Linked DNA regions of Homo sapiens: all the other regions are linked to region 2. The links are contacts of gene promoters, found by promoter capture Hi-C in blood cells and fetal thymus (Javierre and others, 2016). All regions are on one chromosome and are shown on one strand. The core of a region is centred on a gene start or on the middle of the fragment in contact, and the rest is flanking DNA. Distances in the headings are between cores, read along the strand shown. Region 1 holds the start of ZNF571 (zinc finger protein 571). Region 2 holds the start of ZNF615 (zinc finger protein 615). Region 3 overlaps ZNF793 (zinc finger protein 793). Region 4 overlaps ZNF571-AS1 (ZNF571 antisense RNA 1). Region 5 has its middle 4.5 kb from the start of ZNF345.

The links. Contacts are between HindIII fragments. The CHiCAGO score rates a contact against its expected background, and 5 or more counts as called.
Region 1: the fragment with the promoter of ZNF571 here is called in contact with the fragment with the promoter of ZNF615 in region 2 in 1 of 17 cell types (total CD4 T cells); the score reaches 5.6 in total CD4 T cells.
Region 3: a fragment that was not itself captured here is called in contact with the fragment with the promoter of ZNF615 in region 2 in 1 of 17 cell types (non-activated CD4 T cells); the score reaches 5.2 in non-activated CD4 T cells.
Region 4: a contact is called between a fragment that was not itself captured here and the fragment with the promoter of ZNF615 in region 2, in 1 of 17 cell types (non-activated CD4 T cells). The highest score is 5.2, in non-activated CD4 T cells.
Region 5: a contact is called between a fragment that was not itself captured here and the fragment with the promoter of ZNF615 in region 2, in 2 of 17 cell types (naive CD4 T cells and non-activated CD4 T cells). The highest score is 7.5, in naive CD4 T cells.

What each region holds. Positions count from the first base shown.
Region 1 is chr19:37,593,447-37,596,146 of GRCh38, forward strand. ZNF571 (zinc finger protein 571) reads right to left here and starts at 1,346. Exons shown (of 4, transcript NM_016536.5): 1 at 1,295-1,346. It overlaps ZNF540 (zinc finger protein 540), which reads left to right and starts at 1,430. Exons shown (of 5, transcript NM_001172225.3): 1 at 1,430-1,649. RefSeq lists enhancers at 307-988, 788-917, 988-1,037, 989-1,671, 1,268-1,467 and 2 more. The HindIII fragment of the contact is 14,201 bases long and covers 1-2,700 here.
Region 2 is chr19:52,006,936-52,009,635 of GRCh38, forward strand. ZNF615 (zinc finger protein 615) reads right to left here and starts at 1,276. Exons shown (of 7, transcript NM_001199324.2): 1 at 1,206-1,276; 2 at 358-395. It overlaps LOC124904755 (a long non-coding RNA gene), which reads left to right and starts at 1,363. Exons shown (of 2, transcript XR_007067321.1): 1 at 1,363-1,544. RefSeq lists enhancers at 1,037-1,646, 1,707-1,786. The HindIII fragment of the contact is 6,775 bases long and covers 1-2,700 here.
Region 3 is chr19:37,534,197-37,536,896 of GRCh38, forward strand. The region is part of intron 7 of ZNF793 (zinc finger protein 793); the gene reads left to right. All of the region lies in intron 1 of LOC124904708, which reads right to left. Among named protein-coding and RNA genes, the nearest start is that of ZNF571-AS1, 13 kb to the right of the region's middle. The HindIII fragment of the contact is 3,580 bases long and covers 1-2,700 here.
Region 4 is chr19:37,555,193-37,558,002 of GRCh38, forward strand. The region is part of intron 2 of ZNF571-AS1 (ZNF571 antisense RNA 1); the gene reads left to right. It also overlaps a transcript of ZNF540 not described here. Among named protein-coding and RNA genes, the nearest start is that of ZNF571-AS1, 7.6 kb to the left of the region's middle. The HindIII fragment of the contact is 8,397 bases long and covers 1-2,810 here.
Region 5 is chr19:36,844,966-36,847,705 of GRCh38, forward strand. It overlaps a transcript of ZNF790 not described here. Among named protein-coding and RNA genes, the nearest start is that of ZNF345, 4.5 kb to the right of the region's middle. The HindIII fragment of the contact is 5,910 bases long and covers 1-2,740 here.

The DNA.
Region 1 (2,700 bases), core at 96-2,595, about 14 Mb before region 2:
TAATCCCAGCACTCTGGGAGGCCCAGGCGGGTGGATCACGAGGTCAGGAGATCGAGACCATCCTGGCTAACACGGTGAAACCTCGTCTCTACTAAAAACACAAAAAATTAGCCGGGCATGGTGGCGGGCGCCTGTAGTCCCAGCTACTCGGGAGGCTTAGGCAGGAGAATGGCGTGAACCCGGAAGGCGGAGCTTGCAGTGAGCCGAGACCGCACCACCGCACTCCAGCCAGGGCGACACAGCGAGAATCCGTCTCAAAAAGCAAACAAACAAACAAAAAAATCTTAGACCAGAAAGGACTGCTGTATCATTGGGTGGAAAGGAGAGGTGTAGTGTGGCTGGGGAGTAGAGCTAAACTGATGATCCCATCCCCGCAGCATCATTTATGGGGTGCCTAAGGACCAGTCACTAGCATGGCTGGTTCTTCCTTAGGAAGATGTTGCTGGAGGTAGAAAACGTTTCGGAAAGGAAGAAATTTGAGGTTAGAAAGAAAACAGGAACTTCACACAAGACTTTCAGAAGTGCGATATTCTTTTCCTCTGGGTGCCTCTCTTGGAAAACGCAGAACCGAGAAAAGAAATAAGCATCATAGAACATCAGAGCTCTCGGAGCAGACGAAACAATTTAGGATAACACCAACCTCTAGAAAGGGATTAGTCTTCCCCACAGGGCTGTCAAGCTAGAATAGGACATCTTTAACAGTGGTCTTCTTCCTAAGACACTTCCAGGGGTAAAGCCTCACCATCAGGGAAACTTCAAAAAGAGCCTCTTACTCTGCAAAGAAACTGCAGCAGCTGTAACCGCACGATTCTCAGCTGGCTTAATGATGTCCGTGTCACACGAGGAGTACTGCGGCCCGGGAGGGGCCAAGCGCTAGGAGCATTAACAGGCGGCAGGTGAGCCCACCCCGCGGCCGCACAAGCGCACACGCACACGTCCAGGGCGGAGGAACACTACTAGTAACACCCGCCTCCTTCTAGCCTCCCTATCCCAAAGTTATGGTGCCGATTTTGTCCGCGGCAGGGGCTCCAGGGGCACACTCATAAATTCGGTGCGGAGGAACACAACTAGCAGCACCACACCCCCGCCACTGCCAGAACCAAAGTGACGGTGCCGACACCCCTCCGCAAGCGCAAGGCCGACTTCCATAAGTAATTAGCCAGAGCACCGTCCCGTTCCTGTCAGCACCGAGCCCCAGCCAGGACACCGGTATTCCCAGCACCATACAAGAACTACTTTTTCGATGAAGCAACCCAAAAGCTGCGAGCGGTTCCCGGTGAGGCCGCCCACTCACCTGGCCGGCGCAGACAAGCTCCGTGCGTCAAGACATAACAGCGTAAGTGTACGACGTTGCGCAGCGACGCGGGGGCCTTCGGGAAATGTAGTCTACAACTGGAAACCGGCCGGATCGTGTCTGCGCAGGCCCAGCAGCTAAGATCGGGTCCGGCGCTCCAGAACAGAACGATCCCTGAGGCTCCCTTGCTCGAACTGTGGGACTTACCCTACTATGGTCCGAGCCTACCCTATTTCATTATACTCAAGTAACGCCCCAGAAATTCCAGAGAATCTCACACAAAGAGGTTGAGTCTTGCCGTGGTGCCTTCAGGGGAATGTCATCCCGGGCTAGAAGAGCTGCAAAAGGCTGTCAGGTAAGGTCTGGATTTCTCTCTGACAGCTCTGGCCGTGACGCAGTGGCCACGATACCGGGTTGCTGCTCAACGGGGTTCGGAAGTGTGACGCATTCTTTGCGGCCATGTGTGTGTGTGTGCGTGTGTGTGTGGGTCTGTGCGCGCGCGTGTCCGAGTGTCCTCTGTGGGTGCAGAGTGGGTAGTGGCCATGCCTGTGTGATGTGCGTCAGATTATGCTTGAGGCTATTAGTGGCGCATTTAGTATTGTGTGCGGAAGGGTCTTGGGAATGGTTTGATTATAGCTTTGAGGGTGACTGATGTCTGTTTAATCAGATTCAGCCTGCGACTGAGTATCTTATAACCTGTAAGAAATTGATTTTTCTTTGCATGGTCATGAATTTAAAATAGATTCCCATGAAATTATATAAATGTAGTGAATGATTCATTGAGAGTTCGCCTGTGGCAGTGAATGTGGGGAAAGAAGTGTGTGAGCATAATATGGTGAGAATGAGCACGATTGTGTGCAGCGCTGTATTATAGTGATATCTCCTGGCTTCAGTTTTCTCACCTGTAAAGTGAGGGTGTCAGTCGTGTAACGCTTTGGAACAATGCTTTTTAATAGGAATTTCTGCAAAACTGAGTTCCATTTTTTATATCTGTGCTCTCCAATATAGTAGCCACTAGCTACATATGGCTATTGAGAAATTGAAATGTGGCTGGTTTGACTGAGGAACGAATTTTTTAAATTGTGTTCAATTTTAATAAATCTAAATGTAAACAGCTATATATGGCTAATAGTCTTCCTATTGAACAGTACAACCTGGAGCATTAATTTGCCTTCAAGATTTGAAGGGGGTAAAAACTTAATTCATCTAGCAAATATTTGAAAATGAAATTCTTAAAACTTCCTTAAATTTTTTTTTAAATTTGAGATGATTGTAGATTCATATGAGGTTGTAAGAAATAATAGAGACATTGTGTGTTATCTTCAACTTAGTCTTCTCCAATGACAACATCTTGCAGGACTGTAGTATAATATGACAACCAGGATGTTGACATTGATAGTCAAGAT
Region 2 (2,700 bases), core at 26-2,525:
AGCAATACACTGCAATAAAAGTAATAGTCTAGATTGAAGATTAAAGGCAGGAAAAACAAAATTCATGGATAAATGGATAATCATAAAATGTTCCTAAAAATAATACCTAAACATTTTAAAACATTTCACTTCTATCCAAATGTACGCATAAACTTAATGTGAATGCACTTATAGTACCACCGGCTCAAACAGTAAAAACAACTTCTAAATGTTTATTACATAATATAAAGCGAAAAAGATAATAGTACCATTTACATAATTTATCTGAATTATGAATATTAAGCACATAACATACACGTCTAAAATTGAAATATTCTGAAAATTTGACAAAGGTTATCTTTGAGTAACCGAGCTTACCATGGCAGAGATGTTATCTTACTTGTGTCAGAAAGAACCTGAAAAGAAATATCCAAGAGGATACGCTGGAAACTTGCAGGACAAAGGGTAGAAGCCGCATCTTAAATATAAAACATACTACTTTTAGGTATGCTAGATGACTGATCTCGCCAAAAACTTCCATTTCTGAGGATTCAAGACCAAGGGGTGATGGAAGGTGCCAAAGGGGATTTAAAAACCAGTCGTGGAGAAGGGTCTTGGGCAGAAGGGGAATGCTAATGAGCATCAATTCTGTTCCAGCAGCCAGGGCTGGGGCTAACCCATCACCTGCCATGGTTCCCAGGCCTCCAGAGCTGCAGCCCACATCGGAATCTGTGGCGCTACCACCACCGCCACCGGGATTAATTCCAAAACCTGGATCAGAAACCTCCGTACCTTAACCCCCAAGACAGTTCCTCAATCATTTAGTCCCAAACAAAACCTGAACCATAAACCGATTCGCTGACAAAACAAACCCTCCAGTTCGCAATCACTGAGCCCCGCCAAAGGACAACACCAAAGACACCAGAATGTGACTTGGGCACTCAGTAGCGGATCTCTAGAGATCTTTAACCACAAACTACACGAGGACCCTGTGACTGGTCCCAGAGGTACCCCGATCACACACACACACACCCTATCACGGACCTCTTGTAGTTCCCCTGCGATAGGAATCGGACCCACGCTAAGCTCCTGAAAGAATTCCACTGGCGTCGCCAAACGCTGGCGCCGACAGATACCAGTCCATCACCACTGTCCACGAACACGCCCAGCCACGGACAGAATTTCCTCCCCCGTCACCACAGCGACCACCCAGTGACTGAACTTACTTCCCAGAACTTGGTGGGCTCCGGCCTCATCTCTCGGCCTCCTCAGTGCCTGACGGCGACTATCCAGGGTCGGAGGCGTTCCCAGCGTTTGCGCAGATGCAAGATGGCCGCGCCCTCGTCGCCTTGGCTCCATGGGGGCCGCCATCTTTGAGTATCTGACGTACACAAGGCAAAGGGCGCGTTTTGGCGCTGGTGACCGGGGGTGACCGGGGGTGACCGGGGATGGCCGGGAAGATGAAAGAGCACTGAAACTGTCCCATTTCCTGGCACCTCAACCCTTCATAAATACGGGTCCATATACAGAGGCTCCAGTTTACACAAGACAAAAATGGCGTGGAGGTAAATCCCTTTCAGCAGCTGAATAGAAGGCTAAGATGGCCGCGACGTTTACACTTTGTACAAAGGTTAGGAAACAGTTCCTTGTGAGGGAAAAGGAGAACCGGCCGAGAGGGGACACTTCGGCCAAAGCCAGATTTCTAACAAAGTAGCTTGAAGCGCCTTTTGAACGCAGAAGAGGGCTGTTAGCTACGCTGACGGAACAGGGGTAGCAGTCACAGACTAGGTAATGAAAACGGTTGGAACGTGCCAAAATTATGTTGGGTGAAAGGCATGGGGAAAAGCCAGTAAAAGCCAGAAAGTATAGTTCCCAAGGCGGAGGGGAGAGCCTGGGACCCAGGTGGAGCCAAATATGAGGGCTGGACTCAGGAGAAGTGGCCAGAAATTAAGGGAACAGGACCACTTCAGTGAGAAAAAAAAGGTTGGGAAAGAGGCCGGGCGCGGTGGCTCACGCCTGTAATCCCAGCACTTTGGGAGGCCGAGGTGGGCGGATCACCTGAGAGCGGGAGTTCGAGACCAGCCTGACCAACATGGAGAAACCCTGTCTCTACTAAAAATACAAAATTAGCCAGGCATGGTGGCGCATGCCTGTAATCCCAGCTACTCGGGAGGCTGAGGCAGGAGAATCGCTTGAACCCGGGAGGCGGAGGTTGCTGTGGGCCAAGATGGCGTCATTGCACTCCAGCCTGGGCAACAGGAGCAAAACTCCATCTCAAAAAAAAAACAAAAGAAAGAAAGGTTAAGAAGGAGATCACGTTATACTACGTGTGCCAACCGCGAATAGTATGTGCAAAGTCATGGCAATGCTGAACTGTAAATATAAATCCAACCAAACTTCCTATATTAGAAGAATGAGAGAAAGGAAATGCCTGTGTGAATCTATGTGTGTGATATAGGTATCAGTATATAAATATACAGAGAAATTGTCAAACTATTTTTCAGAGTCAAGTTCGTGTTCCATTTGCTCTTCTCACCCTTGGTATATGAGAGTTTTTCTTTTTTTTTGTTTTTTTTTTGTCTCTTTTTGAGGCAAGGTCCACTCTGTTGCCCAGTCTGGAGTGCCTGGGGAGATCACAGCTCACTGTAACTTGGAACTCCTGGGCTCCTGAATAGCTGGGACTACAGGTGGGCACCACCACACCTGGCTAATTTTTTAATT
Region 3 (2,700 bases), core at 7-2,506, about 14 Mb before region 2:
CCCTGGCTCAAACCCAGCATTTTCCTTCCAAGGAACAATTGCATTTTCTGTTTTCCATAACTTGGTTCTCTTTCCAGTGGTGTAATCCTCTCAAAGAACTCACCCATTCTGAGAGTACATGATTCTCACAACCAGCCCTTTTGCCATGTTGGGCCCTTTTTTCCCCCTTGCACTGCCCACCCCCGCATTTAACCAGTCTGTGGATTACACTACAGGTGTGCACTTACCCTGTTCTTTGTGTGTCAAAAACTAAAATCATCTTTATTTGTCCTTGCTACCCCTGCCACACACACACTCACACTCACACACACACACACACACGCACACACACACACCACTTCATCTTGCTTATTATTCCAGGGCTTTGCTACCGTGTGGTCATTTTGAATCTTCTGCCTTTACCACTCACTCTAACTGTTCCATTCATATGTGTGGTTTTGTTGATTTTTTTTCTTCTGAGAAATGGCTTTAAATCTTCCTCTCTGCTTTTTTTTTTTCTTTTTGAGACAGTGTCTCACTCTGTCACCCAGGCTGGAGTGCAGTGGCATGATCATGGCTCACTGCAGCCTTGACCTCCTGGGCTCAAGCGATCCTCCCACCTCTTAACCTCCCGAGTAACTGGGATTATATTCACGTGCTACCACACCTGGCTAATTTTCATTTTTTTTGTAGAGAAGGGGTTTTGCAGTGCCGCTCAGGCTGGTCTCAAACTCCTGGGCTCAAGCAGTCCACCTGCTTTGGCTTCCCAAAGTGCTGGATTTACTGGCATGAGCCACCATGCCCAGTCCTTCTCCACTTTTTTTTGTTGTTATTGTTCAGATGAAGTCTTGTTCTGTCACCCAGGCTGGAATGCAGTGGTGCCATCTCAGCTCACTGCAACCTCCGCCTCCTGGGTTTAAGCAATTCTCTGCCTCAGCCTCCGGAGTAGCTGGGATTACAGGCACGTGCCACCACCCCCAGCTAATTTTTGTATTTTTAGTAGAGATGGGGTTTCACCATCTTGGCCAGGCTGGTCTTGATCTCCTGACCTCGTGATCCACCCGCCTTAGCCTCCCAAAGTGCTGGGATTACTGGCGTGAGCCACTGCACCCAGCCCCACTTTTAATTTTCCACTGATATCTCCTAAAATGAGACCCAGATTATCTCATGACTGAATGTCTTTAAGTGAGGGGTTATTAATTATTTTTGTGCCATGGACTTCTTAGGCATTCTTTTGAAGGCTATAGACCTCACTTCTATGTATAAAAATATAATAACGTTCATAAGATTATAAAATAAATGACTAAAGTACAGTAATTATCAAAATAAGCTAGAAAATAGTTATCAAAAAAAAATTTTTTTTTTTTTAGATGGAGTTTCACTCTGTCGCCCAGGCCGGAGTGCAATGGCATGATCTCAGCTCACTGCAGCCTCCTCCTCCTGGGTTCAAGCGATTCTCCTGCCTCAGCCTCCCGAGTAGCTGGGACTACAGGTGTGTGCCACCACGCCCAGCTTATTTTCTATTTTTAGTAGAGACTGGGTTTCATCATGTTGGTCAGGCTAGTCTTGAACTCCTGACGTCAGATGATCCACCTGCCTCGGCCTCCCAAAATGCTGGGATTACAGGCGTGAGCCACCGCGCCCAGCTTCAAAATATTTTCAAAATGTGCAATATAATAGTAGATGTACTTTTTCATTTATACGTTAATGAGGCCTAGCATCAGGTCTAATAACTGTCATGATCTCAAAGAAGAGATGATTATAAACATAATAATGTGACATGAAAATAACAATATTCACAAACTAGTATCAAGTCACAGGAACCACTAATACCACTGTGTTTTGTTGCTTATATTCATATTCAAAGGAAATGTTCAATTGTAGTTGGAACTCAGTGAAAACAAAAATGTAATTTCTTTTCTATCAAAGTTCACAAGCCCCCTGTTTTCTGCCAAGTTAAGAACTCTTGCTTAAGTCCTAGTTAGCTTTGTTGATTTTATTTTTTAATCTGTTTCACCTTAGAGTGCTTTACCGTTTATATTGTAACTAACTAGCCCAACATGATATTCCCTTGGATGACTGCTATACCAGTGCTTGTTAAGCTCCAAGGTGTTTGGAATCACCGGGGCATCTTGTTGAAATGCAGAGTCTGATTAAGTAGGTCTGGGGCGGTGCCTTAGATTCTGCACATCTAACAAGCTCCAAGTAAGGCCAAAATTGCCACTTGAAGACCCACATGCTGGATAGCAAGGTACTGTATAACATTTAACCTTCTTTCTTCTGTAACAGGGATCAGCAAACTGTGGCCTACCGATTGGCCACCTGCTTTGTGAATAAAGTTTTATTAGAACACAACCACATTCTTACGTTTACATGTTGTCTATATTTTCATGGTATGGCGGGAGAGTTGAGTCATTGTGACGGAGACCATATGGCCCACAAAGCCTTTACTTTCTGACTCCTTAAGAATAAGTTTGCCAACCTCTGCTCTGTAATATCCTATTTTCTTTGAAATTATTGGTCTCTATACTCTATGATATATTGAATTCCATTTGTGCCAGTGTTCAGAATCCTCTTTACTCATAGAACACTCTTCCCTGCGTTTGTGCTTTGGGTTATGGTTCATGTTCTCTATTTGTGTGCTGTGCACTCTTTAAATTTTGAGAGCATTTCTTAAGTAGTATGAAGTTTCATAAGGATGATTCACTGTACTTTCTCCAG
Region 4 (2,810 bases), core at 57-2,556, about 14 Mb before region 2:
TCTCTTAGCTAAGGGAGAGTCAATTCAGGTGGAAACAAGGCTGGGTAATTAAAGGAAAAGGGAGAGTCTAAAAACAGGGTTAGTAAAAACAAGGTTGGGCATTACATTCCCCACTTGTGTTTTTGGGGAATCAAATCGTTGATTCCTCAATTATAACAAGGGGGTTATATTGAGTATTAAGATACATAAGTTTGACAGAAGCTATGCATTCTTTTACAAAATTAAGAAACCAATTTTATATACAAGGCCCAAAAATTAAACTTAATAGTATGATGAGGAGAGGTCCAGCTAACCCAGTGATTAAAGTAGTTAGCCAGGGGTTCCAGTTGAACATGCTTTGATACCAGGGGATGTTGTTTTCTCGTTCCTGTTGGCGCCTATCTAGATTTTCTCGAACTTTTGGAGTGTATCTTTTATGACTAAGAATGGTGGAGGAACAGTTAAATCAACTTTGTTAGGGGGTTTCTGGAACATAGGGTCACCTAGATCAGTTAAAGGCCCGATTGGCTTGGGTGGGCTCCATGAGACCAGGATTTTTTGGATGGTGAACATAGTCCCAACATCAAATCCTGGGATATAAAATCTTAATTCCCATGACATGCCATAATACTACTGAGTTGAATTAGGGTCATGGACAGTTATAGTAAGAGGATTACAATTTTTTCTAGTACATAATTTAGGACGAGAAGCACGAGTTATGGAATGAAGATCTGGTTGATCCCCCAGAGTAGGTGGCTAAAGTTACACATGTCCAATCAGGGCAGAAAAACTGGTAAGTATCTCGACAGCTAGTGTCAGGGTGATTCCCAGGACAGAGGTAAAAGTCAACATTTTGGAGTCCTTTTTCTGCACCTTTGGAGCTTCCACATCCAGTTTGGCTCCTGGAGTGTCCAAATCCTGCTGCAAGGTTGACACTTCCTGCTTTTGGGACCGGCAGATTGTGTTGCTCTTCGCGGGTACGGGCTGGCTCTGGGAACAGTACACATAAATCAACTGCAAAGGAGACTTCCTTGGAGGTACTGGCCCTCCAAGTGGTGTTTGCAAATACACATCCTGTTGTGAAAGAGGTGAGGAGAAAGGAGTAGGAAGGCGCAAAGGACATAACAGGCAAAAACAAACAAGTGAGGTAGATAAAAAGAATTAATCTAATGGCTTCACCTGACTTAGGTGCAGTTTTAAAGGGGCCTGACCCAGGCCTGGGGACCCATGTTTCTAGTTGGGCTCTGTTGGCCTTTTTGATGCGGGAGTGATGAATCTAAGCAGGAATGCCGTCCACCTTCAGAGCCATTGGCGTTGTGAGGATGATGGTGTGAGGTCTTTTCTAAGCAGGAGTGAGTGCTTCTTTCTGGAACTTTTTAACAAACACTAGGTCTCCTGGCTGGAACGAATGGCAGGACCCTGTCTGGTCAGGAATTGGATTCGGATGGGTTCCTTGAACAAGTGGCAGGATGATATCTTGTACCTGTTGGGGAGACTGTAGGTACTGTAATAAATTCTTTTGTGATATTTCTGCCAATTGGGCATCTCTTAGCTTAGGCAAGATAGGCGGCGCCCTCCCATACATGATTTCAAAAGGTGAGAACCTAGCCTAGTAAGGGGTGCACCTTACTCTAAGTAGGGCTAAAGGAAGGAGACTTACCCAATTTACACAAGTTTCTAAGATTAATTTTGTAAGAGTGTTTTTTAGGGTGTGGTTCATGCGTTCTACCTGCCCAGAGCTCTGGGCTCGATAGGCACAATGGAGCTTCTATTGAATGTTTAACGCCTTACTGACCGACAGAACTATAGACGAGGTGAAGGCCGGTCCATTATCAGACCCTATGGCAGCAGGCAGCCCATATCGAGGGATGATTTCATTGAGTAAAAACTTAACTACCAAGTTGGCGGTTTCGTTTTTGGTAGCAAATGCCTCAGTCCATCCAGAGAAGGTGTCTACTAGTACTAGAAGGTATTTGTACCCAGCCTGGTGTGGTTTTACTTTTGTAAAGTCAATTTCCCACTTCTCTCCTGGCAAGTTTCTTCGGAGACGGTGGCCTGGGCTGGGTTTAGGACCTTGTTTGGCATTTACCTGGTCGCAGGTTGTTCCCCAGAGAGCTGCTTGATCTGTTAGGCTTTGAAGACGGGGGATTCTTGTTTTTGATAGCCTTTTCTGCTGAGGTGAGTAGCCTGCGCTCCTGGCAGATGGCTCCATGTACATGCACCGTAGCAAAGGCGTACCTGCTGTCAGTGTTAACGTTAATATCCTTACCCCATCGGAGAGCCTGAGTGAGGGCGATCAATTCAGCTTTTTGCGCTGAGGTGTTTGCTGGTAAAGCCTGAGCCCACAACACATCTGTCTCCGTGGTAACAGCTGCACCGGCCTTTCGTACTCCCTGCTCGAGAAAGCTGCTACCGTCTGTGAACACGGTGGCGTCCGCCTTCTCTAGGGGCACATCTTGAAGATCGGATGGGCCAGTTTCGGTAGTTTCCAACAGTTCCTGACAGTCATGGATAGTAGCTGGATTTAAACACCGTGTGGAAGAGAAAGTCAGTTTACTGATCTAACAGTAAACTCTGATATTGCAAGATGCGAGCATTTGACATCCATTCGCCAGAAGCACTTTGAAGTAAAGTCTCTATGGCATGAGGAGCCTTAAGGGTTAAATTTTGGCCCAGAGTTAACTTATCAGCCTCTTGGACTAGGCTTGCTGTAGCGGCTACTGCTTGGCTCGCAGACAACTTGGCCATCCAGAGGTCTCAGGATCCAGTTTCTTAGATAAATAGGCTACTGGGCGTCTCCAGGGTCCTAAGGTCTGAGTAAGCACCCCTTT
Region 5 (2,740 bases), core at 75-2,574, about 15 Mb before region 2:
TGAACCCGGGAGGCGGAGCTTGCAGTGAGCTGAGATCCCGCCACTGCACTCCAGCCTGGGCGACAGAGCGAGACTCCGTCTCAAAAAAAAAAAAAAAAAAAAAAAAAAAGAAATACTAAATGGAGTTTTTCGAGAAGAACAAGATCTCAGATGAAACAGAAAGAAATTTAGGCCAGGCACAGTGGCTAATACTAGTAATCCCAGCAATCTGGGAGGCCAAGGTGGAGGTTCATTTGCATCTAGGAGTTCAAGACCAGCCTGAGCAATATAGCAAGACTTTGCCTCTACAAAAAATCAAAAATTAGCTGGGCGTGGTGGCGCACACCTGCGGTTCCAGCTACTCAGGAGGCTGAGGTAGGAGGATCACTTGAGCCTGGGAGGTCGAGGCTGCAGTGAGCCATGATCATGCCACTGCACTCAACCTGGGTGACAGAGTCCCTGTTTCCAAAAAAAAAAAAAATTAGTAGGGAAAGAATAGCAATAGAAAGAGTAAGTATGTGAATATAAATGAATATTGACTGCACAAAGTAATATACTGCCCTCTGGGGTTTTGAATGTATGCAGAATTAAATAACAAAAATAAAGCAAAAATGAGGATGGAGGTAAATGGAGTTAAAGTGTCCCAAGGTCCTCTAGCAGTATTGGGGAAATGGTAAAGTCAATAATTTGTCCTAGACTAAAAGAAAGAGGAATGCTGTAATCTTTCAGGTAATCACTAAAAGATTTTTAAAAACATGTACAACAAATTGACAGAAAAAATGGATCCACCTTTGGCTTTGCAGAAAATGACAGTGCAATATGACAGCACAAAGATTTATAAAGAACCTAGATTCTTTTTTTTTTTTTGAGGGGGGTGGTGGGAGACGGAGTTTCACTCTTGTTGCCCAGGCTGGAGTGCAATGGCATGATCTCGGCTCACTGCAACCTCTGCCTCCCGGGTTCAAGCGATTCTCCTGCCTCAGCCTACCCAGTAGCTGGGATTACAGGAATGCACCACCACACTTGGCTAATTTTTGTATTTTTATCAGAGACGGCGTTTCACCATGTTGGCCAGGATGATCTCGAACTCCTGACCTCAGGTGATACGCCCATCTTGGCCTCCCAAAGTGCTTGGATTACAGGCATGAGCCACCACACCTGGCCCCAATCTTATCTTTATCTGGAATATGATATATTTCATTTACACATTCATTGTCCACTTCCCCAACTAGAATGGTATACTCTGTGAGGACAGGAAATCTTGGCTGTTCTGTTCACTGATATTTTCCTAGTGCCTAGAATAGCACCTGGCACAGATAAGGAGCTCAATGAGGCCAGGCGCAGTGGCTCACGCCTGTAGTCCCAGCACTTTGGGAGGACGATGCGGGCAGATCACAAGATCACGAGGTCAGGAGATCGAGACCATCCTGGCTAACACAGTGAAACCCTGTCTCTACTAAAAATACAAAAATTAGCCGGGCATGGTGGCAGGCGCCTGCAGTCCCAGCTACTCGGGAGGCTGAGGCAGAAGAATTCTTGAACCCGGGAAGCGGAGGTTGCAGTGAGCCGAGACAGTGCCACTGCACTCCAGCCTGGGCGACAGAGCGAGACTCCGTCTCAAAAAAAAAAAGAGCTCAATGAATATCTGCTGAATGAAGAAATACAATGGTTGACAGGAACAGGAAATAGGAACTTTCATACATTTCTGGTTGGAATAAAAATTAGTTCACCATTTGTGGAAGGTAAATACTTACATAGCCTCTGTGTTCTAACTGCATTTCCTTAGATTCTCTATTAGTCTATTTGGCACTCGTTCATCAAGAGGCCAATTATATTAACTATATTTTCTTATTTTCTGTATTCTTGATGCTCTGGCATTTGGGGACCTTACCAAAAACAGGGAGAGGCTGCTCCTCTCAGGGCTAATTCCTAAAGATAATCACAGTTTTCCAATGAGCACAGCTTACATATGCAAACCAACCAATCCTGAGTCTATACCTCTCTGATATTGTGATGTAATAAGAAATATGTATTTTGGTCTTTATCCATGCCCATGGTTCTTGGTTCATGGGTCCTAAAACCCTTGTAGTTTCCTAAACAGAGTATTTTCTGTTAAAACACTTGTTCTTAGCCAAGTGCGGTGGCTCACACCTGTAATCCCAGCACTTTGAGAGGCCAAGGCAGGCAGATCATGAGGTTAGGAGTTCAAGACCAGCCTGGCCAACATGGTGAAACCCTGTCTTTACTAAAAATACAAAAATTAGCCGGGTGTGGTGGCGCACATCTGTAATCCCAGCTACTCGGGAGGCTGAGGCAGAATTGCTTGAACCCGGGAGGCAGTGGTTGCAGTGAGCCGAGATTGCGCCACTGCACTCCAGCCTGGGCAATACAGTAAGACTTTGTCTTGGGAAAAAAAACAAAACAAAAAACAAAACAAAAACACTTGTTCTTTTGTCCTTGGTTATGTTCTGAATGTGTTCCCCAAAATTTATATAGTGAAACTTAATCGCCAATGTGTTAGATTAAGAAGTGGAGCCCTTCACGCCTGTAATCCCAGCACTTTGGGAGGCCGAGGCGGGTGGATCACCTGAGGTCAGGAGTTCGAGACAAGCCTGGACAACATGGTGAAACCCCGTCTCTACTAAAAATACAAAAATTAGCCGGGATTGGTGGCATGTGCCTGTAATCCCAGCTACTTGGGAGACTGAGACAGGAGAATCACTTGAACTGGGGAGATGGAGGTTGCAGTGAGCCAAGATCA